5 separate regions of the Homo sapiens genome follow, and regions 2, 3, 4 and 5 are each linked to region 1. The links are contacts of gene promoters, found by promoter capture Hi-C in blood cells and fetal thymus (Javierre and others, 2016). All regions are on one chromosome and are shown on one strand. The core of a region is centred on a gene start or on the middle of the fragment in contact, and the rest is flanking DNA. Distances in the headings are between cores, read along the strand shown. Region 1 holds the start of PTPRG (protein tyrosine phosphatase receptor type G). Region 2 overlaps FHIT (fragile histidine triad diadenosine triphosphatase). Region 3 overlaps FHIT (fragile histidine triad diadenosine triphosphatase). Region 4 overlaps FHIT (fragile histidine triad diadenosine triphosphatase). Region 5 overlaps FHIT (fragile histidine triad diadenosine triphosphatase).

What was found. The method cuts DNA at HindIII sites, captures the fragments that hold promoters and counts their contacts. A CHiCAGO score of 5 or more calls a contact.
Region 2: a contact is called between a fragment that was not itself captured here and the fragment with the promoter of PTPRG in region 1, in 1 of 17 cell types (neutrophils). The highest score is 6.1, in neutrophils.
Region 3: a contact is called between a fragment that was not itself captured here and the fragment with the promoter of PTPRG in region 1, in 1 of 17 cell types (neutrophils). The highest score is 6.6, in neutrophils.
Region 4: a contact is called between a fragment that was not itself captured here and the fragment with the promoter of PTPRG in region 1, in 1 of 17 cell types (neutrophils). The highest score is 5.3, in neutrophils.
Region 5: a contact is called between a fragment that was not itself captured here and the fragment with the promoter of PTPRG in region 1, in 1 of 17 cell types (neutrophils). The highest score is 6.9, in neutrophils.

What each region holds. Positions count from the first base shown.
Region 1 is chr3:61,559,985-61,565,173 of GRCh38, forward strand. It overlaps PTPRG (protein tyrosine phosphatase receptor type G), which reads left to right and starts at 1,587. Exons shown (of 30, transcript NM_002841.4): 1 at 1,587-2,388. The coding sequence starts at 2,304. RefSeq lists an enhancer at 1-364. The HindIII fragment of the contact is 7,216 bases long and covers 1-4,427 here.
Region 2 is chr3:60,460,590-60,465,656 of GRCh38, forward strand. All of the region lies in intron 5 of FHIT (fragile histidine triad diadenosine triphosphatase), which reads right to left. Among named protein-coding and RNA genes, the nearest start is that of MIR548BB, 150 kb to the right of the region's middle. The HindIII fragment of the contact is 5,459 bases long and covers 1-4,790 here.
Region 3 is chr3:60,273,838-60,278,618 of GRCh38, forward strand. All of the region lies in intron 5 of FHIT (fragile histidine triad diadenosine triphosphatase), which reads right to left. LOC107986015 (a long non-coding RNA gene) reads right to left here. Exons shown (of 2, transcript XR_007095935.1): 2 at 1-4,781. Among named protein-coding and RNA genes, the nearest start is that of MIR548BB, 340 kb to the right of the region's middle. The HindIII fragment of the contact is 3,652 bases long and covers 1-3,566 here.
Region 4 is chr3:60,357,228-60,361,781 of GRCh38, forward strand. The region is part of intron 5 of FHIT (fragile histidine triad diadenosine triphosphatase); the gene reads right to left. Among named protein-coding and RNA genes, the nearest start is that of MIR548BB, 260 kb to the right of the region's middle. The HindIII fragment of the contact is 2,469 bases long and covers 424-2,892 here.
Region 5 is chr3:60,372,806-60,377,602 of GRCh38, forward strand. All of the region lies in intron 5 of FHIT (fragile histidine triad diadenosine triphosphatase), which reads right to left. Among named protein-coding and RNA genes, the nearest start is that of MIR548BB, 240 kb to the right of the region's middle. The HindIII fragment of the contact is 1,847 bases long and covers 1,638-3,484 here.

The DNA of each region.
Region 1 (5,189 bases), core at 337-2,836:
TGTACTTTATTTGAAAACCTAGCATCCGGTTGGGATGTTTGGGTGGGTGGAGGACCCTGCCGTGTTGGGATGAAACAGCAGGGACACGTTTAAAACACAAGAACCATGCGCGGTGGCTCACGCCTGTAATCTCAGCACTTTGGGAGGCTGAGGCAGGCGGATCACAAGGTCAGGAGTTCGAGACCAGCCTTGCCAAAACGGTGAAACCCCGCCTCTACAAAAAAAACCAAAATAAAACAAAAAACAAACAAAAAAAACCACCAAAAAAATAATCAGCCGGGCGTGGTGGCGGGCGCCTGTAGTCCCAGCTACTCGGGAGGCTGAGGCAGGAGAATCGCCCGAACCCGGGAGGCGAAGGTTGTAGTGAGCCGAAATCGAGCCACTGTACTCCAGCCTGGGCGACGGAGCGAGACTCCGTCTCAAAACAAAACAAAACAATCCCACGTCAAGATCGCTTTGAAACACAGGCAGAAAAATTAGGCAAAAAATGTCAAACGGCTAATTACCTTGGCTCAGTTACACATTTACTCGAAAGCCCGCCTCCCCCACTTTTAGCCCCAGCGTTAAGAATGTAAAATAGGGCGCTTAGAAGTCTAAGCGATAAAGATCTTCTTACCGAGAGCCAAGGGACAAAACTCATTACAGATAAGCCTAGTCCTCCCATTTCCCCCGGACGCCTCTCCCCGATTGCTAAAGAAGCAGCCGCTCCCCGGGTAGCTGCCAGGAAATCAGTCCGGCCCCGCGGCGCTGCTTTCACCCTGCAGGGTGTAAGAGGCGCACTTCCTGCGCCCTCCCCGCGGCCAAACCGGGGTGCGGGAACCTTCTCCAGAGAAGCTGCGAGTTGGGGAAACTCCGCCACCGATCCATCGTGGCGCCGGGAAAGGGGATGCGGGGCTCGGAAGGGCTAGATTTCGCAATCCTGGGATCGACATTCCTCCCCTCCCCCACTTTCCCCAGCCTTGGACTGGGCCAATGAAAGCCCGAAAAAGAAAAAAAAAAAAAATTAAATCTCAATGTAGCCGGAGTGCAAAGGCCGCTCGGCTTTGTTTCCCGGCGGGGGAATGCGCTGTGTTGGAGGCGCGAACAGGAGCCGCAGACGGTGAGCCTCACCGCTGCAAATGCCAGGGCAGTGAAGCCGAACAGAAAACCCCATCGCTTTAAAAAGGCAGCTGTCCGCCCTCCCCCTTTCCCCTCGCCAGGGCGAGGGGCCCCTCAAGTCCGGGATCCGCGAGCTGCGCGGAGGATCTCGCCAAACCCGAGCACCGTGCGGCGTCTTTTAAGAGCTCGAACAACGGGAATCCAGCAAAAAACAAGCCGGCCCCAGAAGGCAGCCTCCCTCCTCTCTCCGCGCACGGGCTACAATCGCCCCCAGTCCCCAAACTGTCCCAGTAGAGGCCGCGCGGAGAGAGCAGAGCCGAGGGACCCAGCGCAAGGCGGGAGCCAAGCGCGGCTGCTTTAAGAACGCGGAGAGCGCGCGCCCGCCGCCAGCTGGCCCGGGCTGCGCGCCCCCGCCGCCACCGCGCGCCCCCTGTTCGCTCGCTCCTTCGCTCGCCGGCTTTAAAGTCTCTGCCAGGATCCATGCTCACATGTTACTTCCTGTATGGAGGCATGGCCAGTTTCCAGCCCCGCGCTCTTCGTTCCTTCCCAGCCTGCGCCGGAGCCACAACTTTCAGGAGCATGGACTGAAGGCGCCCTCGCCCCAGCGCCCCTCTGAGATCCTTTGTGTTTTCCTCCGTTTCCTCCGGCCGTTTCTATTTTGGGGGGCTCTCCGCTCCCCCTGCCTCTCCCCTCCCCTTCCCCTCTCGCAAACATGCCTCCTTCCTTCCCGGGGCCCTGGAAGGAGCTGCCTGCCTGAAGCCCGGAGACGCCGCGCCGCGCTCAGCCCCGCCGCCGCCCGCCGGCTCTCGGGCTGTGCTGCGCTGCCGACTCAAGTTGGGGATCCTCGGCTGCTCGCCGCCGCCGCCCGCGGTCCCTGCCTGCCCCAGGCCCGGGGCATCGCCGCCGGCCGCCGACTCCGCGCCCTGCCCGATCGGCTCTCTCCTTTTTAAACGGAAAGCAGCCTTTCTCCGCCGAGAGGATCGTCCCCAGCGTGGCTCTGCGTTCCCGGTCACTTTTTGAGATTTTCCGGGGGGCGCTCGGCGGCTTCCCGGATTCCAAGGGGACTCGGGCCGCCGAGCGCGGGGGGCCCGTGGAGCGGGCGAGCCGGGGAAGCGCCCCGGCTTAGCGGAGGCTCGCACGGAGGCAAGAACTTATTCAACAAGTTTACCTCCCTGCTTTCCTCTTTTCGATGTGCGTTTTCGGACATGCGGAGGTTACTGGAACCGTGTTGGTGGATTTTGTTCCTGAAAATCACCAGTTCCGTGCTCCATTATGTCGTGTGCTTCCCCGGTGAGTGCCGGCCGCCGAGGGGATGCGGCCCCGGCCGGCGCGCGTTGGGGATGCGGAGTTGTCGCCTGGGCGCGGAGCTCCGGCGCCCGTCCGGGAGACCCTGGAGAGGGTGGAGGGTGGCCCGGCGCCCGGATAGGAGAAAAGGATTGCTCCGCTGGCTTGGATGATGTTTAGGGAGGCAGGCTAGTGGTCGAGGAAGGTGGAGGCAGGGGCTGGCCGGGGAGGGGGCTGGGGGACGCGGGGGTCTGCTCCCGCTCCCTTTTGGGGGTCCTGGGGAGCTGGAATCGGGAGAAAGGGGGACTTGCTTTGCTGACTCGTCGCCGATCGGGAGAACTCGAGTTGTGGGGCGGTTGGGGAGACTGAGGCCATGGAAAGGATGCTTCTGTGGGTTTGGGGGGCCCGGGATGAGCCCCCTCGCTCTGGCGGGTATTGAAGGAACTCAGAAGGTGGGGGTTTGCTTTGCTGTTCTCCATCCCTTTGGGAGGGCTAGGTTTCGGGGAATGGAAGTCGGAGGCTGGCTGCGGAGGACTGAGGATGTGTGGGGAGCAGCCTGCGTTCTGGGTCGGGGGCGTCCTCCCTCTCTCTGGGGGCTGGGGCGCGGGCAGCACTTCGGTGCCGGCGTGAGGCAGCCTCCTTGGGCGCAGTGAGACGGCAGGGCGCAGGCGGTTTCGGAGAGATCCGTGTCTCCCCTAGCCCCGGCCCGTGGCCCTTTCCCTCCGCTGCTCTGCTCGATTGGATTGCCTGGGTCTGGACGCGGGGAGGGGGCGGGGGCGGTTTCGGCGGCCGGGGCGGTTTCGGCGGCCGGGTTGCTGTTCGCGCCGGGGCTGATTTTTTTCCTGTCTCGCGCGCCCTGCCTACCTTCATCTTTGCCCTTTTGCAGGCTGTTCGCGGCTGGCAGACCCAGTCTCGCTCCTTTCTGGCCAGGTTAAGACAGGAACAATACTGGCCGTTGATAAGAATAAATCACCGCACGTAACGGTGTGCGGCTCGGCGACCCTCCACTTCCAGCTCTCAGCTGGCAGTTCCCCCTCCTCTCTCCCCTGGGGAGGGCAGAGGCCAGCTGCCTCCCTCTCCTCTCTTGCAGGTCCCCCGGGCAGCAGCCCCGAGCTCCCTCGTAGCTGTCCCTTGGGGTGGAGGCCAAGTCCTGCCCTAGCCCGGGGAAGGGCTGGAAGAAGGGGTGATTTGCTTTTCATCCCTCGCTCCCCTAAGGACAGAGAATTCCCCGTTTTTCTGCCCTCTCATCCATCAACTCCTGCATACCCGGAGGTGGAGGTTATCTGAATCAAGAAAAAGAGGAATGTGCCCCGAGGTCTCCGCTCTGCCTGGTTACAGACGCCTGTCCTCGGGCGGCTGGAGCGCCCGTTTTTGGTGCAGCGGGTCCCTTAGTCCCGTCGTGCGACCCGGAGCAGGGCGCGCGGGAGCCCTCGTCGCCCTTGGGGATCCCCTCGGGGGACTGGCAGCGAATGCCCCCTTTGCAGAATCGGGGATGGCCTCGAGGGGCAGAAAGGGAAAACACCGTCTGGTATTCTGCACCCCCTTTTCTCTCTGCGCATCCTCCTGCCCGCGGAGCGGCACGGAGCTCCAGCCCAGAAACGCAGCTCGGAGGCCGAGCTAGGACGTGCGTCCACACTCACCCTGGGGTTTGCCCACTGGAGTCCTGCCTCTACGGTAGGACACTGGGGCCTGGGGTTTGCCCACTGGAGTCCTGCCTCTACGGCCTCTACGGTAGTGTAGGCCATGGGGACATCTCCCCTTAGAAACAGCTGCCTTCATTCACTAAAAGATCACTGCTCAGTATTTGGGTTAATCATCTCTCCTTTCTAGTCTCCCCTGCTTTACCACGGACTTGACGACTGAGCGGGCTCAGGTGCACACAGGGGTTGAGCTTTGTGAGGGCCACTCTTTAATGGGTGCAGTGGGAGGTCGTGGAGGGCTGCCTTGCAAATTAGAGGAATTTCCAATTCCACTTCTGTCCTTCTTGCGCTCGGGGATGCAGTCAGTGGGCTGACCGTGGTTTTCTTTTCCCTGGTGTGTGAGGAAGCTTGAGATCCAAAATGGGACTGCCAGGGAACCAGCCTTCGTGGGGCTTGGACCATTTTCGTCTTCTCATTTTCTTTTCGCGCCCACGCTGCGAGGTAAATAGCCCCTTTCCTGGTCCGGGAGCCGAGGGGTGTGGGAAAGGGAAAGGACAGTGGTGGGAGGCGCAGGGAAGAGGGCGGTTTGGTTTGGAAAAGTGCAGCCCGAGAGGGAGCAGCAGGCTTTGGAGCAAGGTAAAGTTAAAATATCAGAGCTCTGGGAGACGCTGGCTTTTCGTTTTCCGAGGTTGCCGCGACGCCGCTGGACCTCAGGGGGCGCCCCCGAGCCACTGGTGGGGCTCCTGCCACCTCCACACTGGTCGGCCTCGGCCACCTCCACGCCTCAGGGATGGGGCGCGCGTGCCCGGGTTCCCAGGCTCTGGGGCTGCAGACGCGCCTTGGCGCGAGGCGGCGGCCTCGGCCTGGCGATGCTGCTCCTGGCTTTCTCGAAACCCGCTGGGGGCTGGAGTTAGCCTTGGGACCCCTACTTCTTGCCTGCTATGACCTCGAAAGCGCTTATCTGTTTGACATGAGGGATAAAAATGCTTCTGTTTTGGAGTAGGGTCGTCCTTGTGAGGTCTTAGCCAAAATCCCTTTTTATTTAGTATTTTTGTGTTTCCTCTCAGAATCATAACTCAGCATAACTCTTCAGTTGCATTTGAGTTCTCAGCTCCTGTTCAGGATATGGGTTAGCTGTAGTTTGGGCAGGGTTTTGGAAACACAGCC
Region 2 (5,067 bases), core at 811-3,310, 1.1 Mb before region 1:
TAAAATAAATACATTCAATAAACACAGAATACAGACAGCTTTAATTTTTTACATGTGGGTCAGGAGGATCCATCTCTCCCAAAACATGTATCACCCCACATGTGCTGTGATTTACAATCCTCAAAGCATTAAAGTTTAATTTGTGAATCTACTGTTTCAGATTCATTGGAATTCTGATCCAATAGTCACTCTAAAATAGATGCAGGCTGGAAGACAATTCTCTACATTTTAAAGCCAGATGGCCCATAACAGCTAAATATTTTTTCTTTCCTTGTTCAGAATATAATTCATGTTGGAAGTAGTGAATCAACTTAAGTACGTACAAATTTAAGGGAACCTTAGTCATCAGTCCCAAACTTAGGAATCTATTTAAAGGAAATATATTTTAAGGTTAAGTTTAAAAAATAACAAAAGAGAATACCATATGTAACAACCCTGGCACAGAACACTTTCTTTAAGAAAACTCCCTTAACGTTAACGGCAAAAAAATACTCTTCCCATTTCACTATGGTAACTAATAAAAATTTTTTCTTCACACTGAAAAATAAAATCTTTATTTAATCTAATTCTGTAAGTGCCAAAAACTCTGATTATTTTATCAAGTTATTAAATATGTTATTCAGTAGTGAGCCTTATTGATTTTCCTTTTGATTAGAAAAATTACCAAAAAAATCCAGCTCTACAGTTCATAACCTGAGAATGGTAGAAACCCAAGACGTAGAGCACATTATGCAACACTCTTAAACAAATCTGCCTCTTGGGATCTCTCTCCTTTTATAGAAAGAGACTCTCCAGCAGCCCCTAGAGACATTCCCATACTAAGTGAGTCAGCTAAATAAAATTAAGCAACTAATAAAACAATATGTCATCTTGTTCTCATTGTCATAATTAAAATCCTTTTTCTTTAAGATGAAAGGTGGCAGCTATAGAGTAGCCTTCAAAATCATAGGCTATGCCGAAGCAGGATCTTCTCTCCAACGCTGTACAGACAACGCAGCTGTCCCTGACATCACCACTTGAAATTATTCCCTATTTGATATTTTTGACATTAAAAGGCTGAAGTCTTTTTTCTTCTGCAAGTTACTTCCATGCTTGCTTATTAAGCATTCCAAGTTGGTCTCTCACCCAATAGCCTTAGAAAGCAGACCATCATTATTTAGGGCAAAGGTTTCCAGAGGCAGTCAGAGGCAGGATAAGGATGGGGGATCCCAAACAAGCCATGCTCTTTCCTAAGCAAAGCACCTCTATTTTGAATGTGTTTGATACACTGAGCTTCCAAATAAGATTGAAATTGATTTTAAAAAAAGGGAACCCCCGCCCCCCTTTAAGCCAGGTAAAAACTATAACCATCCCTGTCAAGAGCGTTACATGAATCTGTAAATCCTATGACAGACTACCGGTTGAAACCGAGGTTGAAGTCTTCAGTTCGCCTGACTCAGTGCTGGTACACAGTAAAAACTAACACTGAATGGGTGCCCCACAGTGAGTGAGGCATTTCAGCAGGACCGGGGGGATGTTATGCAACAAAAACAGTTATAGCCCTTGTCTGCCTGGAGTTCACAATCTAATGGAAGGATGATCATTACATCAAATATTAAAGAGAGCTACCATGCAGTAAGCCCATTCTAGACATCAGCTGCCGTTCTAATATCAACTCATTTACTCTCCACCACACCTTTAAGAATGAGGTACAGTGATCACTCCCCTTTTACAGAGGAGCCACTGAGGCACAGAGTTGGCAAGGTTGCTAAGTGGCCAAGTTTGGTTTGAAGCCAACGGTATGGCTTGAGTGCCCATGGCTCAACCACTCAACCCTACCTCCTCTCCCAAACACTGTAAGAACCCAAATGTCAAATGCACCTAGGGCAAGTCCTCGACAGAAAGGCATGGGGTGTGAAAAGAATGTATAATTAGAGGATCTGACCAAGGCAGGGAGAACACCACTGAGGAATTAATGCAGGAGCTGAGAGCGGAAAGCAGGGTAGTGAAGAGAGGAGGGAAGAGCATCGAGGTAGGAGCAAAAGCAAGAGATCCGCCAGGATAAAGGGCTTGGAGAGCAGGAGGACTAGAATTCAGCCCATCAGGACAGAGAACATAGGAGGGTGGCAAACAGGAGGTTATGGCCCCAGGCGGACAAGGAAAGACAGGAAGGTGCCAACCATGCTGGACCGGGCTAAGACAGCTGGGGAGCCACTGAGGGCATGCTGCAGGGAGATCACTGGGCTAATACTTGTGAGTCCAAAAGACTTTTCTGGCTGTATCTACACAGTCATGGCACAGTCCTCCCAATAGGCAGGCCGACACAAAACCAACCCTGCTCTGTATCACTCCATGTATTCCTGGTCATATTGTCACAGCCTGATGTGCACTGACCACCTCTGTGCTGTGCCACACTGAGGGAGCAGCTGCTCCAGCTAATTTCTACCCAACATTCACCACCTGGAGGCAATGCATTGGCTCCTCAGGCTTTAGCATGGCAAGGGAACTTCACAAATAAGAAAGTTTAAAAATGATGTTACTCTCTTCAAAATCTTTTCTTCATTTGTAGGTGGCAGAAGGCAACAGATATATCACATCATTGAGTACCATGGGACATGTGTTCACACTTTAAAGTACTTAGGTGTTATTTCATGTAAATGTTGAGAAGGAAAAAAAAATCCTGTTTTTCTTGTCTCTTGGGAATCAGCTTTGGTTTTCTGAAGAAATAGTTCACAAATCTAAGGAAAATGATATATCTATACTTATTTCCCTAAAGAGAACATAATTTTTCTTCTTTTGGTTGATAAGGATTTAATTGCATTTAGAAGGATTTAATCACATAAGGCTAACCAATGAAACACTAACTGTGGGCAGAACTCTGTTTCAGTTGGCCCTATTGGCCCTAAAATGTCATTGATAGTGACTAAATATACACATTACTCCTCTCCCCCGCCATCCTTTCTCCTCCTTCCATTTCTCCTTCTCAGAACAGAGAAATAAAACGTCTAGGAAACCCATCATTTACTGGGGAAAGGAAGGGGACGTGTAACATTTCAAACTGTAATAAGGCATGAACTTGCCAAGCTGTCCATGTGGGAGGTTATAGCATGCCCAGAGAAGTTGCCCAGAAAATAGACATGGTTTCCAATCAAAAAAACTTAGACCAGTTGAAACTCTGGCTTTGGGCAATTTACTTAACTTCTCTGGGCATCAGTGTTAACTTATGTAAAATGGAGACAATCACAATATGTACCTTACCCTGTTGTGGTAAGATTAAATAATTGGCACAGGGCCTGACACAATAAAGGTTAATGATAGCAGCTGTTAATTATTATCCACGAATCAGTTTAACTTTAAGAAAATAACAACTACTTTGGCCATTCTAGCAAGTGTGTGGCAAAGAGGGATAACAGAAGCTCCTTTTGTGGAAGAACATGTAATTTGCCCTTTATTTGCACAGTTTGGAATCATCATCATAACATCCTAATATGCCTTGAAATCCTGTGAAAAAACAGAAGTAAACAAGTAAAACCACCATAGCAACACTATGGCAGAACTGAGTTCACTAAAAGATCTTGTCTCTTGCTCAAAAGGCTTGACTCAAGGAAAAGAACTAGGTATTTCTAGGTTCCCCTGCATTCATTTTTTTAAAAAATTGTTGTGGGTACATATAAGATATGTTGTAGGTACATTTATGGGGTACAAGGGATATTTTGATGCAGGAATACAATACATAATAATCACGTAGGGTAAATGGGATATACATCATCTCAAGCATTTATCCTTTGTGTTACAAACAATCCTATCATATTTTTAAGCTATTTTAAAATGTACAACAAATTACTGTTGACTGTAGTCACCCTGTTATGCTATCAAATACTAGATCTTATACATCATATGTAACAACATCTGTGTATGCATTAACCATCTCCCCCTCCCCAACTACCCTTCCCAGCTTCTGGTAACAATCCTTCTACTCTCTCTTTCCGTGAGCTCAGTTGTTTTAAATTTTTAGTTCTCACAAAGAAGTGAGAACATGTGATGTTTGTCTTTCTGTGCCTGGCTTATTTCACTTAACACAATGACCTCCAGTTCCATCCAGGTTGTTGCAAATGACAAGATATCATTCTTTTTTATAGCTGAATAGTACTCCATTGTGTATATGTATCATATTTTCTTTATCCATTCCTCTGTTAGGGACACTTAGGTTGCTTCCAAATCTTGGCTAGTGTGAACAATGCTGCAATAAACACGGGGGTACAGATAGCTCTTCAATACACTGATTTCCTTTCTTTTGGGTATATACCTAGCAGCGAGTTTGCTGGATCATATGGTAGCTCTTTAGTCTTTTGAGTAACCTCCAAACTGTCCTCCACAGTGGTTGTACTAATTTACATTCCCACCAACAATGTATGAGAGTTCACTTTTCTCAACGTCCTCTCCAGCACTTGTTATTGCCTGTCTTTTGCATATCTTTTCATTATTTTGTGTCCTCTTCAATAAGCCATTTTAACTGGGATATTACTGTAGTTTTGATTTGCATTTCTCTGATGATCAGTTATGTTGAGAACCTTTTCATATATTTGCCATTTGTATGTTTCTTTTGAGAAATGTCTATCCAGATCTCTGCTCATTTTTTAATCAGATTATTAGATTTTTTTTCCTATGGAATTGTTTGAGCTCCTTATATATTTTGGTTATTAACCCCTTGTCAGATGAATAGTTTGCAAATATTTTCTCCCATTCTGTGAGTTGTCTCTTCAAATTGCTTTCAAATTTGCTCTTCAAATTTGTTTACTTTGCTATGCAGAAGCTTTTTAACTTAAGCTATCCCATTTGTCCATTTTTGCTTTGGTTAACTGTGTTTGTAGGGTATTACTCAAGAAATCTTTGCCAAGACCAATGTCCTGGAGAGTTCCCCCAGTGTCTTCTTGTAGAAGTTTCATAGTTTGAGGTCTTATATTTAAGTCTTTAATCCATTTTGATTTGATTTTTGTATATGGCAAGAGATAGGGGTCTAGTTTTATTCTTCTGCATATAGATATTCAGTTTTCCCAGCACCACTTACTGAAGAGATTGTGTTTTCCT
Region 3 (4,781 bases), core at 491-2,990, 1.3 Mb before region 1:
GTTTTCACAAATATTTAAAATCACAGAAAAAGTAATGTTCTGAAACATTTACAGAAATTAATAAAAGTATCTCATCTTTGTGTAGATTAAATATTAAAATGCACTTATATAACTTTTATTAAAATAATTAATATTTAACGAAGACAATTGAAAGAACACAACTATGACAAATTACATTTTGGCAGTAATGATAAGCCTTTGAGTTCTAGTTCTTTCTCCTTAGGGATGTTACATATCTGTTTTCTCTACTTAAATCACTCTGCCTCATTATCATCTCTGCCTTCTACTCTCAGTTCAGCTTGAAAGTTCATCTTATACAGGGTTACACGATTTTATAATATCAGATAACTCTCTTTCACACCACTTACCAGAGCTCTAATACTAACTTATGTGTCTCATTCTTGGTTGAACATTTCTCTACCTCACTAGATTATAAACTCCTTGAGGGCAGGCACTGGTTCCACTCTCTTCCACTAAATCCCCAACTCCAAAACCCTAACACCTTAACACCTAATATATATATCACCATTTACATATCAGTCACTCAATAAATATTTGAAGAACGAAATGACAAAATACCCTTTACCTGAATGCTTACCTAAAAATGTATCTTATATATGGAATGAATGATCCACACTTACTACATGGATGTATAAACTCAAACATTATACTTTTCTTTGCACATTTGAGAATATGTGTCATAAGCTATGTTTACAATGATATGGAAACAAAAACTTGTCTATAACAAAAACATGCCCATAGCAATAACAGCAACAACAAGAAGTGGTTCCAAATTCAAGGTGGTAGCACAGCTTTTTTCAAAAATTTGAGAAAAAACAAATCTATTAAAACAGAAGATATAGTCTCTTGGACTCCACTAAAATGAGTCTGTTCAGGTCTACTACAAAACACATCTTTAAGAGAGATTCATGGCCTTAGTAGCCAGACAGTAGGTATGGCCCAGACCTTCCCAGCACAGCCTATGTATTGAAGACTTTAGTGAAAACACTCATGTCAGCAAATTTAGCATGGATAATTGCAATAGGAAGTTCTATAACTTTGCTTTAGGGAAAAAAATTCTATTTTAATTTTCATTCCCAAACAGAATTATGTTAGAATAACAAAATAAACTTCCCCACATTTATCTGTTTTTTAAAAATGATAGTCTCAAGGAAGAGAAACTTTCTTTTCATTCATTTAATAAAGATTTTTGCATTTTATTTAAAGACTCCTTATGGCTATATTTTAAGGATTCAAGTTCATTTATTTGTGATAACTAGAAAAATTTTTTGTCCCTTTGTGAAAATTTTGGAACTAGGCATATTTTCATTACTGTTTTCATTATTACTGACAACTTGGCTCCCTGCTCTGGGAAATATTTCTGGAAGAAAAGAAAAAAAAAAAAAAACTATGAATCAACTAACTTACTTAGCAAGGTCATCAGCTTACTCACCAGGGCTTATTTCAAGACCCTCTCTGTGCCACAAACACAAGACTACTTTGTCTAAACTCTTGTCCAATTCCAATCATTTCTCTGACTTGCAGTACCTGCCTTAAAGTAATGCAGAACAAGCCCAGAACTCCATAAATGTGCTCTCCTAATTTATCCATTTTGAGCAACTAATCAGATTCTCTCAATCTTGTATATTCTTTTCCTATAGATCTAAAATCATAGCTTTGCTTGATCAACAGGTTTTTCCGGTAGTCTTGTGGAAACTTGACAGTAGGCATTCATCTTATATCCACTACACAGAAACCTGAGTTCACAGATGTTGTCTTAGTCAATGCCATACACACACACACACACACACCTGTGACCAGCACAGTGGTTGGCACATAATATGTGATCAATAAATGCATACTTAGGAAAGAAGATTTTGTTCTATAGTATTACAGAGGGTCAAAGTTCTTATAAAGGAGAGTCAGTTACTAAAACTAAACTGATATTCTATCTTCTCATGTGGTCTTTCGGCATCAGTCCTATCCTACACAATAATGCCTTGCAATCTGTAGTTGTGAAATTAGACTTCTTTTTATGTGTGCACAAATTAAGCCAGTTTCTACAAATTAAAGAACATCCAGCAATTATTGCTCTCCTTCAAGCTGACCAATAGGATAAGTTTAAGCAGTAGTTTTGAGAATTTGTTTTTGCAATTTTTTTTTTTTTTGAGATGGAGTCTCGCTCAGTCGCCCAGGCTGGAGTGCAGTGGCATGATCTCGGCTCACTGCAAGCTCTGCCTCCTGGGTTCACGCCATTCTCCTGCCTCAGCCTCCTGAGTAGCCGGGACTATAGATACCCGCCACCAGGCTGGCTAATTTTTTGTGTATTTAGTAGAGACCGGGTTTCACTGTGTTAGCCAGGATGGCCTCGATCTCCTGACCTCGTGATCCGCCTGCCTCGGCCACCTAAAGTACTGGGATTACAGGCATGAGCCACTGCACCCGGCCTGTTTTTGTAATTTCTTATACTACAATGTTTCCTTCTGGAGACAGAGGAAGTCCAGCAGATGAAGTCTAAAATACTCTGCTTATTTTGTGAAAAGACCAGGCATTCACACAAGCGTTTTTCTCAAAGCTGAGAAAAAGGAGGCTGAAGGTGCAAAAGATATCAGAGTACTCATTCAGAACCCAAGAGTCTATAAAATATAAACCTGGTGAGAGAACTGGCCTCAGCCAATGGAGATGCCTCAATAGTGTTTGTGTCACGAGCGAACAAGGTGAATCATAAAAATATTTTTTAAACTTCTGTTTCAAAGGTGCAAAAGGCATATATATTAGTCTCTTTGCATTACTCTAAAGGAATACCTGAGACTGGGTAATTTTTAAAGAAAAGAGGTTTATTTGGCTATGGATCTGTAGGCTGTATAGGAAGCATAACACTAGCATCTGTTTGGCCTCTGGTGAGGGCCTTGGGGAGCTTACAATCATGGCAGAAAACAAAGGCGAGCCAGCATGTCACAGGGCAAGAGAGGGAGAAAGAGAGAGAGTAGAGGAAGTCCCAGCCTCTTTTAAACAGCCAGATCTCATGTGAACTCACAGACTGAGAACAAACTCACTCATTACTGCAAGGATGACACCAAGCCATTCATGAGGAATCCACCCTCATGTCCCAAACACCTCCCACCAGGCCACTCAACCAACAATGGGGATTACATTTCAACATGAGATTTGGAGCGGACAAGCATCCAAAGTATATAAGTACAGCAGCTAGAACTTTCAGTTACTTAAAAAAAATCTTGCTGACATCTTAATTACCTGCTGAAGTCCTGGTGGTCAGCAAGAAAGCAGTGAAAACATTTAAAATTTCAATTTTCATATTAATGGTCCTAATTTCTGGATCTGGTTTTCTCTTTTAACCATTTGCATAAAAATGTTTTGTGAGGGACATATAAAGAAGTTGGAAGCTGCAGATATAGGCGTTAAAAAGGAATTATTTAGCAGACAGTGAGGGTATGGAGTCCTCCGTAAGGTTTTCCTTTGAATGAAAAGCAGCCGCCAAATCATTTTCTTTTCTAACAAAGAGCAGCCTGTAAAATCAAGCTGCAGACCCAGACAAGCAAGCTGGAAGCTTGCAATGGATGAATGCCAGCAGTTGTGCCAATAAGAAAAAGCTACCTGGTACTAAGCATGCTCAAAATGGCAGCTCCATCTTCCCTTTTCTTTGCCAGCCACATGTAGAGTAACGAGCAGGCAACATGGCGCCAGCTGGGAGAAGTCGCCATTTGCTTAAGATCAGGGTAGGGCATCCAGCTTCCTCGCATGTTATGTAAACATCACACCTCGTCCAACCAATCTTTGGGCCCTATGTAAATCAGACACCGCCTCCTCAAGCCTGCCTATAAACTCCAATGCACTCTGCCACAGGCTGGAAGTCTCATTCAGGCACCCTTTTCTCTCTCAAGAGAGAAAGCTGTTCTCCTTTCTCTTTCTTTTGCCTATTAATCCTCAGCTCCCAAACTCACTCCTTGTGTGTGTGTGTCCCTGTCCTTAATTTTCCCGGCATGAGATGACAAATCTCGGATATTATCCCAGCCAATGACACTGCTTCACTGCAATTTGCAACAAGAAAAATATTTACGACAAGGAAAAAAGATGAACCAACTGGAAATTAATGACTTTTTTAGATTCAGCAGAGAACTGAGGTCCAAAGCAAACTAGTATCCCCAAATTTGGAGAAACATGTAAACACAAAGAATCATAAGATCAGATTACCTAAAGCAAAAACAGAAGGACCTAGGAACTGATACGAACACGTGTATGATAATTTTGACAAATTGCTGGAGGCTCAGTGCAGACTAGCTTGAGAGTTAAAAACTCTTGCAGCCTAGTCTTAGGGGAGACTATACTTTTCTGAGTTTTATGTCCAAGAACCCTATCATGTTCTCATGGGGAAGTCTGGAGAAAAATCTCAGGGAAGAGAAAAAGTAACCATTTTGGAAGTTTCCCAGATTGTTCTCTGTAAGAAAGACACGTCCTTTCAGGGAAGCTATTTTACCAGAGTTCTATCTGACTTGGGAGAAGGGCAATTAGTCCCCTCCAGACTCTTTTAGCCTTCCTGTCTAATGTCAGGGGACGAAAAAAGGGCTCAGAACATTTCAGAAGATCGCAGCCTAGAAACTCAGGCTCACTAAGAAAACTGAGATGTAATCATAATATACAACAATTATCCTTCCTGAGACCTCATCACCACGTGAAGAGGTCTTTGGTGATTACAACTGAGAGGTGAAACACACAGACTCTATTGAATAAGGAGCTCTTAGGAAAGCCCAAAGACAACAGGG
Region 4 (4,554 bases), core at 408-2,907, 1.2 Mb before region 1:
GATGGAGTTTTTCTGTGTCGCGCAGGCTGGTATGCAGTGGCATAATCTTGGCTCACTGCAACCTCTGCCTTCCAGGTTCAAGCTCAAGCGATTCTCCTGCCTCGGCCTCTTGAGTAGCTGGGATTACAGGCACCCATTCTTGAGTAGCTGGGATTACAGGCACCCATCACCACACCTGGCTAATTTTTTGTATTTTTAGTAGAGACAGGGTTTCGCTATGTTGGTCAGACTGGTCTCAAACTCCCAACTTCAGGTGATCCACCTGCCTCAGCCTCCCAAAGTGCTGGAATTACAGGCATGAGCCACCACGCCCGGCCCAATATCACTTTCAATGGGTCCCAACACATTAAATGATGATTTCTTGACAAAGTTTTACACACTACTTAAGGATCAATTGACATCAACCCTAACTCAAAGCCAGGAAGCTTAATCCAACATGAAAATATTCTGTGGATGTTGTACTTAGGCATATTATTCTCTGTAGTATATACTTTCATATTGATACACATATTTAACATATTGCAAAGCATATTTTAAAAGCATTGATCTATGTTCTACTGGTAATTTTCACAACGCTTAATCACATGGCCATCATAGTCTTTGCATAAGACTACCTTGTTGTTCAAGAATGGTTTTAGCATTCCATCCTTCTCCATCATACTGGCTCAGAGGTGAGAACTGACCTTCTCCCAGTAGATAAAAGACTCTCATAATTGTATTATGTACAGCAGCATCAGCATCACCTGGGAACATGTTAGAAGTTCGAACTATAGACCTCCAACCCAAACCTCTGGAATCAAAACTCAGGAGATAGGCCTTAGCAATTTGTGTTTTATTATATCCTCCAGCTGTCTGGAGAACCACATAAGTTTTGAGAAAGAAGGCAATGCACCTTATCATTCTTCAAGGCAAAGTTCACTTCACTTAGCTTGGTATTCTTCACTGCACCTAGCACCCTCAACATAACAAGCACTTAATACATATTTGTGACATAAAATAGATTAAAATATTCTAAAGACAGAACTCATTTTAGAGAACAATCCTTTCCAGCCACTATTTGGAGATTTTGATACTAGAGATGTATTTGGCTGAGAAGTTTCCTTTCCTTAACCTATTGCTAGGTTCTGTGAACTTGCCATGAATTGAAACCAAGGATGGACTACAGTCAGAATGAAGGAAGATGAGGAAGAAAAAAGCAAAGAAGAAAACAAAACCACTCTATTCCTTCTGAATTTGGCACAAAGATCTCAGGTGTTCCTTATATTCTTAAGACGTAAATCACAATGAATTATGATCATTGAGCAAATATTACTGTGAGCCTAGGTCAAAAAGCTAAGGTCATAGTGTTCTGACATAAACAAAATCAGCTTTATTTCAGAAAGAGCATAGTGAAAGGCTAATAAACATTGCTAAGTAAAGAAGGGGCTGATAACACAGATACAACATGGTAGGTCTATACTTTCTAGTGCTTATCCATTTCTCTGCCAGCCCCTGCATTTATGGCACATCAATCAAAAGTCTTGGTTTTGGAGCCAGGTGAACTGGGTTATAATCTGGCTCAGGTCTTCACTAGTTGTAGGTCTTTGGGGAAATTATTCTTCTCCTTTCTGACTGTCTTCATCTATAAAATGGAGTAATAATGGTAACTAACTCATAGAATTGATGGAAGATTTATATTAAATAATGTGTGTTGTAAATGCTCAATAAATGGTAGATTGTTTTTCTTTGTCTATAGGAGGTGTTGAGGGCTTGTAGTCTACTTGTTCAAGCAACAGGACATAAAACAAAAGCTCATTAAGTCAGATGTGGTATCCCATCAGCACTTGCCCAGCACTGAGAATACAGCAGGTATTCCAGAAGTGTGAGCCAAATCACATGCATTATACCACAGTACAAAGAAACCTTCCCCAAGAGTCATGGTTGAGAATTACACAGCAGAGATTTTCCACATCACAGAACAGAGTAGACTGGCTTGACTTCATGATATTTGGATACAAAACTGAGAAAATTAGATTTCCAAAATATATTATTACTTGAATATGAAAATATCTTTTTTTTTTTTTTTTTTTTTTGAGATGGAGCCTCGCTCTATCGCCAAGCTGGAGTACAGTGGTGTGATCTTGGCTCAATGCAACCTCCGCCTCCTGGGTTCAAGCGATTCTCCTGCCTCAGCCTCCCAAGTAGCTGAGATTACAGGTGTGTGCCACCATGTCCAGCTAATTTTTGTATTTTCAGTAGAGACAGGGTTTCACCATGTTGGCCAGGATGGTCTCAATCTCTTGACCTCGTGATCCACCCGCCTTGGCCGCCCAAAGTGCTGGGATTACAGGCGTGAGCCACTGTGCCCGGCCTGAATATCAAAATATCTTTTTCGAATTCTGTGACAGCCCATGACCCCTTCACCAGAGCAAGCCAAACACCACTTGTTTTCGCCAAAGAGACAGGAGCAAAAGGTTCTGGTATTTATCATCTGGGCTTTATCTTTTTCTGGATAGATTATGAAATTCCAGTGTATTCCAGACAGGTCCATTTTCATGGAACCAACCACTGTCTTCCCTAAAAGCATAACAGCATCACAGGCAAAGGTCCCAAGATAATAGAATTTTATATATCAGGCTGGCTTTCTAAGAGAAGTCAATAAAATCCAACAATGATGGGAAATGCAGGATGTAGCAGAGATCCTTAAAAGCAATTAGCAGAGAGCAGGGATGAAAAGCAATTATGCAAACACTAGAACACTAGGACATTCAAGACTTTTTTTTTTTTTTTCTTTTTTTTTTTTTCATTCTGTAAGGAAAGGACAGATCCCTGCTTTGGAAAAAGAATACAAATGTGCAGGTTTGAAAGTTCCCCATTAGGTGCATCTACCATTTCTATTATATTCAAATACTAAGCTTTTTAGGACTTATATTAAACTCCATAATCTTAATATTTATGACCACAACTTAACAATTAATCAAACTATTAAACACTAAAAGAGTCAAAGGCTGAGTATGGGTGGGGCAAGAAAATTTTTTTTTTTGAGATGGAGTCTCACTCTGAAACAATCTTGAAAAGCCTCCAGAAGGTACAAATTTGCTGGCACTATAAAAGACAAAGGCAACTTAAGGAGGTTCAAGGAAAAAGGAAAATAATGCTAAGAAAGAGAAAACATGAGAGAAGGCACTGGGGCCAATAATGCACAGAGTTCAGATACTAAATAGTGAAGTGATCCATTCAGCCTAGAAGAATGTTATGGTAGAATGGAAAAATGCAAGTCTTTGACTCTGAGAGCCCTGGGTTTTAATTCTGTCTTTCTGTGACCTTGGGTAAGGCATATAACTTCACTGAGATTCACTCTGAGCACCCACAAAATGAGGGCAACAATAGCTATCCTATGAAATAGGTAACTAATAAATAGCAGCAATATTTAATAGGCATGCAAATTCTTTTCTCTTCCCTTCACCAAGTCATAATAAACCTGTTCTTTAATTCAAAATCAATATGGCCAAAGCCAAATTCACAACATCTTCTCACAAGCTTCCCTTCTCAAACAGCCTGTCTTATCAATCGAGCCACCATGTCTCCACTGACCCAGGCTTGGAATGTCTGACTGATAGCTGCCTCAACTTCACCTTCAAAACAAATGTCTGCTCAAGTTATATCCCTCCAACACGATTCATTTTGACCTCTTTATCCCTGTTTTGTCAACCACAACCCAAATCTAAGTCTGAATTATTGAAAAAGCCTTCCGTCCGACCCATGTGATTCCTACTTTTCTCCCCACAAATTCATATACCTCCCACTGCTTAGCTTATCTATTTCGAATACTGGTGTAATACATCCTGGTGATGGCTCCCTGTTTCCTACTACTCAGTGATATATTCATCCGTTCATCCAATAAACAGTTACTGGATATCCACCAAATACCAAGTACTGGGCTATGTATTGGAGGTGCAAAAATGAGCAAGTCATGCCTTTGAAAGTCCAGTGGGGAGAAGTAAACAGATAGATTATAATACAATGCTATAAAGAAGAGATGAAACTAGAAATTCGCTTTATAGGTTGAACGAGACAAAATCTCAGATCAGAGATGGTGCTGTATTGGAACAGCATCTCAAGAGAGGAGAGGTGTTTGTCAGGCAAAAAAATGGAAAAGGGCACTATTCTTTTTCAAAGGCACGTACACAAAAAAATCCTGTGTTTTATAAGTAAAAGACACCCCCACCAACTGTAGAGGAGGTTGAATGGATTTCTTGCAGCAGTGAGTGTGTAAATGAGTGACTAGCTAGGATGCAAGACTCCCCTCCTTTGACCAAGCAAGTAAACAAAGGATGGATTCTTCATAGAAGATGCAATGGCAACAGGTGACAAGTTTCTTTGGGCAACTACTGAGTCAGTTATGTAGGTAAAGGGGTAGAGATTCAAGAATCAAACAAACAAAAGACAACAAAAGCAATACAATATTTCAGACACAGAACCCCACTGGCCAGAGAGAGAGACAGATTTTACCCCTCAATGACAGTGAACACAGAACTTAGACCATTTGAAATAAAAGTTCTTACCATATCTCTC
Region 5 (4,797 bases), core at 1,311-3,810, 1.2 Mb before region 1:
GCTGATATGATCAGTGTACTTCCTCTGAAATTAAAGTTTCTTTTGATATTGAGTTCAGTATATTCAGAGTGGAAATCAAATGACTTAGGCTGGTTACAAAGATTTAAGTTAATAGAGATGAATTTAATCCACTGGTGGTGTGTTCATAATCAAATGAAGGACTCATTTCTGTTCTAGAGCCTACCAAATAAAAATGTCAAAATAATTGGATTAAAATCATATGAAATTTATTTATTTATTCAACAAATATTAAATGTTTTTATGTGCCAGACAATATTGGGTGATGGACATACTGATGTTAACACTGAGACCCTACCTTGCCTTCAACAGCCTCTAGTTTAGCAGAGAAGGCACACATTAATTCTGTATTTGTGTGTGCCATGATCTGATTGTAATTGTGATAAATGTCATGGGAGAGATGATAGGGCTGATACAGCCCAGTCCTTGGGTGGGGAGGCTGGGTAAGGATAGGGTCAGAGAAGGATGACCTGAGAAAGTGACGTTGAAGCTAAGATATAAAGAATTTGAAAATGGCTTGGTAAAGTTCTAGATAAATGAAACAGCATCAAATGCGAAGGTTGCCACATTTGAGATGAGAGCAGGTCAGTGTGGTTGCAGTACAGAGAGCAAGGCACGATAGTGTGAGACTAGGCAGAGAATAAGCAGAGCCACCATCATAGGAGCTCAGAGGCCATCTTAGGACATCAGAACTTTCTGTTAAAAACAATGGGAAGCCAAGAAAGGTTTTTAAAGCAGGAAATGGACATGATCAGGTTGAGTGTATAAGCCGTCTCCCTAGCTCAGTGGAGAAAGCAGACTCATCTTGGTGGTAGTAGGGAGACCAGCAATTGTCCCCAAAATGTCCAGTCACTACTGGCAAAAGCACCCCTAAAAAACATACAATTGAGGAATGCAAGGTGCAACTTCATTAGAAGCCCCTCGGCTTACAACGTCTATCTAACCAGAATGCCATTCTTAAATCGCTCCTATTCCTATTTCAAACTTCTGGTTCAAACAGCTCTAGTAGCCATGGAAGAAAAGATTAAAGGCAGAAAGACTGGTAGCAGAAAAGCCAATAAGGAGGTTTTAGCCTAGGCACTTGGTTCTGGTGGTTCAGGAAGTAGAGAAAAGTCAATTAAAACAAGCTACACAGAAGGCGGAATCTCTAGTATGTGGTGAATCTGGTTATTGCAATTACTACATGTATCTTTTTAAAAAAGTAATGGTTTTGGTTCCTCTTGAAATTTACATGACACTGGAATATCCTCATTTCTCTGAATTATTTTTCTTACATATAACACATATATGACATTTGACCTTGTCAGATGCTTAAAACAGAAGAATTAAGCCAAGAAATATTTCTATCAATCTCAAGTCTTTTAGGAACCTAACTAAAGGAGAATTAATAGTTTAATTATAAACAATTCTTTCCTGATCATTTTAAAAGACCCACTGAGAATGTGTGCCAGGCAAAATAGTCTAGTTTTAGTTACTTTTTGCAACCTAAAGTAAGAAGTCTCTATTTTTTTAAACAATATTTGATGACTTAGGGTGATCCAGAATTAATTTCCTCCGCTGCTAATGCAATTCTGTAAGTTTTTACTCAATTCTACTCTGCATCATTAAACAGGACTAAAAGCTTTACATTTAGGGAAGCATATCACTTGGAAAAAAAACACGTTAATGTGAATTATAACAACAAACTTTGGAGACTAAAGGCATGACTAGTAGGATCTTCCACCCCAGATTTTTTATATGCTAAGAAAATGAAGAAAGAAGCACACACACATACTAGATTACCTACAACACGGCCTCTTAGGCAAAGCATTGACATTTATGTAGAAGGACTTCAAGCGTGGAGCTAGAGAATATGCATATTCAAGTAATAATTTGATTTTAAAACCTGTGCAGCCCGAAGTCAAGATCAAATTGCATACTCAATTTTTCCACCAACATTTAGAATATTTTCTCAACGTTGAGACGTGATAATAGTTGTGTGGCTGTGTGTTTTTTAAAAAGTCTATTAAGTAGAAGAGACTGCTAATCACTGAACCAGCCCTTGCAGTTTTCTTTGCTGCTCTACAGTCAGTTAACAGGATATTACAAAATAAATTAAGAATAAGAAACAGGCCAAGTTAATGCACATGATAAAGAGTTGAGTCAGGGAAGGTTTCTGCAATATTTGGAGCCTGAAAGGAGAGACTCTAAGGGTAGCAGTGGTGTATGATAATGAGAAGAGGGAGAGAAAAATGGTAAAATACTTTATGCTCTTCAAGAATCATTCCTTTTGCTCCTTTTGAAAAAAAAAAAACAAAAACAAAAAACAAAAAAAACACTTTCACGGTAGCAATTTTTAAATGCTTTTCAATAATTGTGAGTGCCAGATTCATGATTCTGTATAGGAACATCTTAATGTAACATCCTTAAGTAGAAACCCAGTAGAACTTGGTTTTGTATCATTACATCAATATTGAAAGTATAGCCTGGGTGTGGTGGCTCACACCTGTAATCCTAGCACTTTGGAAGGCTGAGGTGGGAGGATCACCTGAGTTCAGGAGTTCGAGACTACCCTGGGCAACAAGGAAAAACCCCATCTCTACTTTAAAAAAAAAAAAAAAAATTAGCCAGATGTGGTGGTGTACACCAGTAACCCCAGCTATTCAGGAGGCTGAGGCACAAGAATCTCTTGAACCCAAGAGGCAGAGGTTGCAGTGAGCAGAGATCACGCCACTGCACTCCAGCCTGGGTGACACGGTGAGTGAGACTCTGTCTCAAAAAATATATATTGAAAGTATAAATACTACTATACCATTTTAAAGTACACATACATAGAGGAGTAGCAATACCATTCTGTGAAGACAACTGGTTAGTTGTAGTTACTTTCATATTCTGGAGCTGTCTTCTGCCTGGACTATTCTCCCCTCAATCACAAATTTTCACTGGGTCAGTGCCTGCTCAGATATCATATCTAGGCTTAATCAACTGTTCTGTAGAAAGACCTTCCCAGATCCTATAGATGCAATGCTGTCAAACAGAGCTCTCTACAACGATAAAAATGTTCCAGATGTGTGTTGCCCAATATGGTAGTCATGAGCCACATGTGACCACTGAGCACCTGAAATATGGTAGTGTGCCTGAGGAAGTGAACATTTAATTTTATTCCTTTTTAATTAATTCAAATTTAAATTAAATTTAAATAGCTACACGTGGTTAGTGGTTTCCATGCAGAAGCAGAAGAAGACAGCTCCTGTTCTTCTATTTCATTCATATTCTGTGTGTCCCCTTGTAGGACTTGGCATATTTGCAGTTACATAGTGTTTAAAATTATTTGTTTAATGTCCATCTTTCCCACTAAATTATTGAGATTTTAAGTAGAGTAACTAGGTCTGTCTTGATCCCACAAAAGCCCATGCTTGACACCACAAGCCCCCATGCTTGACACATAGTGTCTATTCAAAGAGCTGCTGACTTACCATTTAAATAAAGCTTTTAATTATCTTAAACATATAATATCAGATATTAATAAGTTGGTTAAGTGAATACCAAAGGTTCATGTTAGAAGACTGGAATACTGTTTACAAGGTGTGAACTTTCTGGAAAAGTCCAGAAAATGCCACCAGAAATTATAAAAATCAGTGGTAAAATGTGGTTGCCACAGATTTTTCATAAACACAAACATACATACACACACACATTCTCAAAACACAGCTGCCTTCAGCAAAAGAGTCTTCTATTTTGCTCTAAAATCTGTTGTGGTTGTGAAAATGATGACACTTCTCTGCAAAAGAAAAATTTCAATGCAAAACAAACTCACAATTTAGCTCAGGATGTATGAAAAAGTTGACACAAAGAAGCTGTCCTTTCCTGGTTTAAATGACACATTTTATCTTTAGATTTTGGTAGCTAATTTTTAAAAAAATCCTTTAAAACGTATTACCTTTTCCAGGGACAAATGCTCTATAATGTTATTCTCTGCCATCTTTGAAAATGAAATAAACATTTATTAAAATAATACCATACACGACATAGATATTTTTAATACCCCCATTGGAAATGGTGGCATAGAGAAGTGGACAGTGTGTATAAAGCTACGAATTCCAGAGAACACTGGTTATAATTCAGTGGGAAATACAGTTAGTTTGTCATTGTTTGGCTGATTTGTTCATCCATCCATTTATCTCTCTCTCCATATGTAATGTTTATCCTTTCTTACTTTACTAAAATAATATCTTTCATCATGAAACTCACAGTATGCTAGGAAAGTTGAAAAAATACACAGGTGACTGAAATATAAGCCCCTAAAGAAAGCTGTGTTCAGGAGAGGCATAGAGTTCATCCTTGGAGGAGCCATTTATATGAAAACAGTTCTGTTTACATGCAACAGAGAAAGCCATTAAGCTTTTTTTTTTTTTTTTAATGGAGTTTTGCTCTGTCCCAGGCCGGAGTGCAGTGGTGCGATCTCGGCGATGCCTCAGCCTCCTGAATAGCTGGGACTACAGGCACGCACCAACACGCCCAGCTAATTTTTGTTTTAGTAGAGACGGGGTTTCACCATATTGGCCAGGATGGTCTCAATCTCTTGACCTTGTGATCCTCCCGCCTCAGCCTCCCAAAGTGCTGGGATTACAGGCCTGATCCACCATGCCCAGCCAAGAATTCTTTTTTTTTTTTTTTTTTTTTTTTTTTTGAGACGGAGTCTCGCTCTGTCGCCCAGGCCGGACTGCGGACTGCAGTGGCGCAATCTCGGCTCACTGCAAGCTCCGCTTCCCGGGTTCACGCCATTCTCCTGCCTCAGCC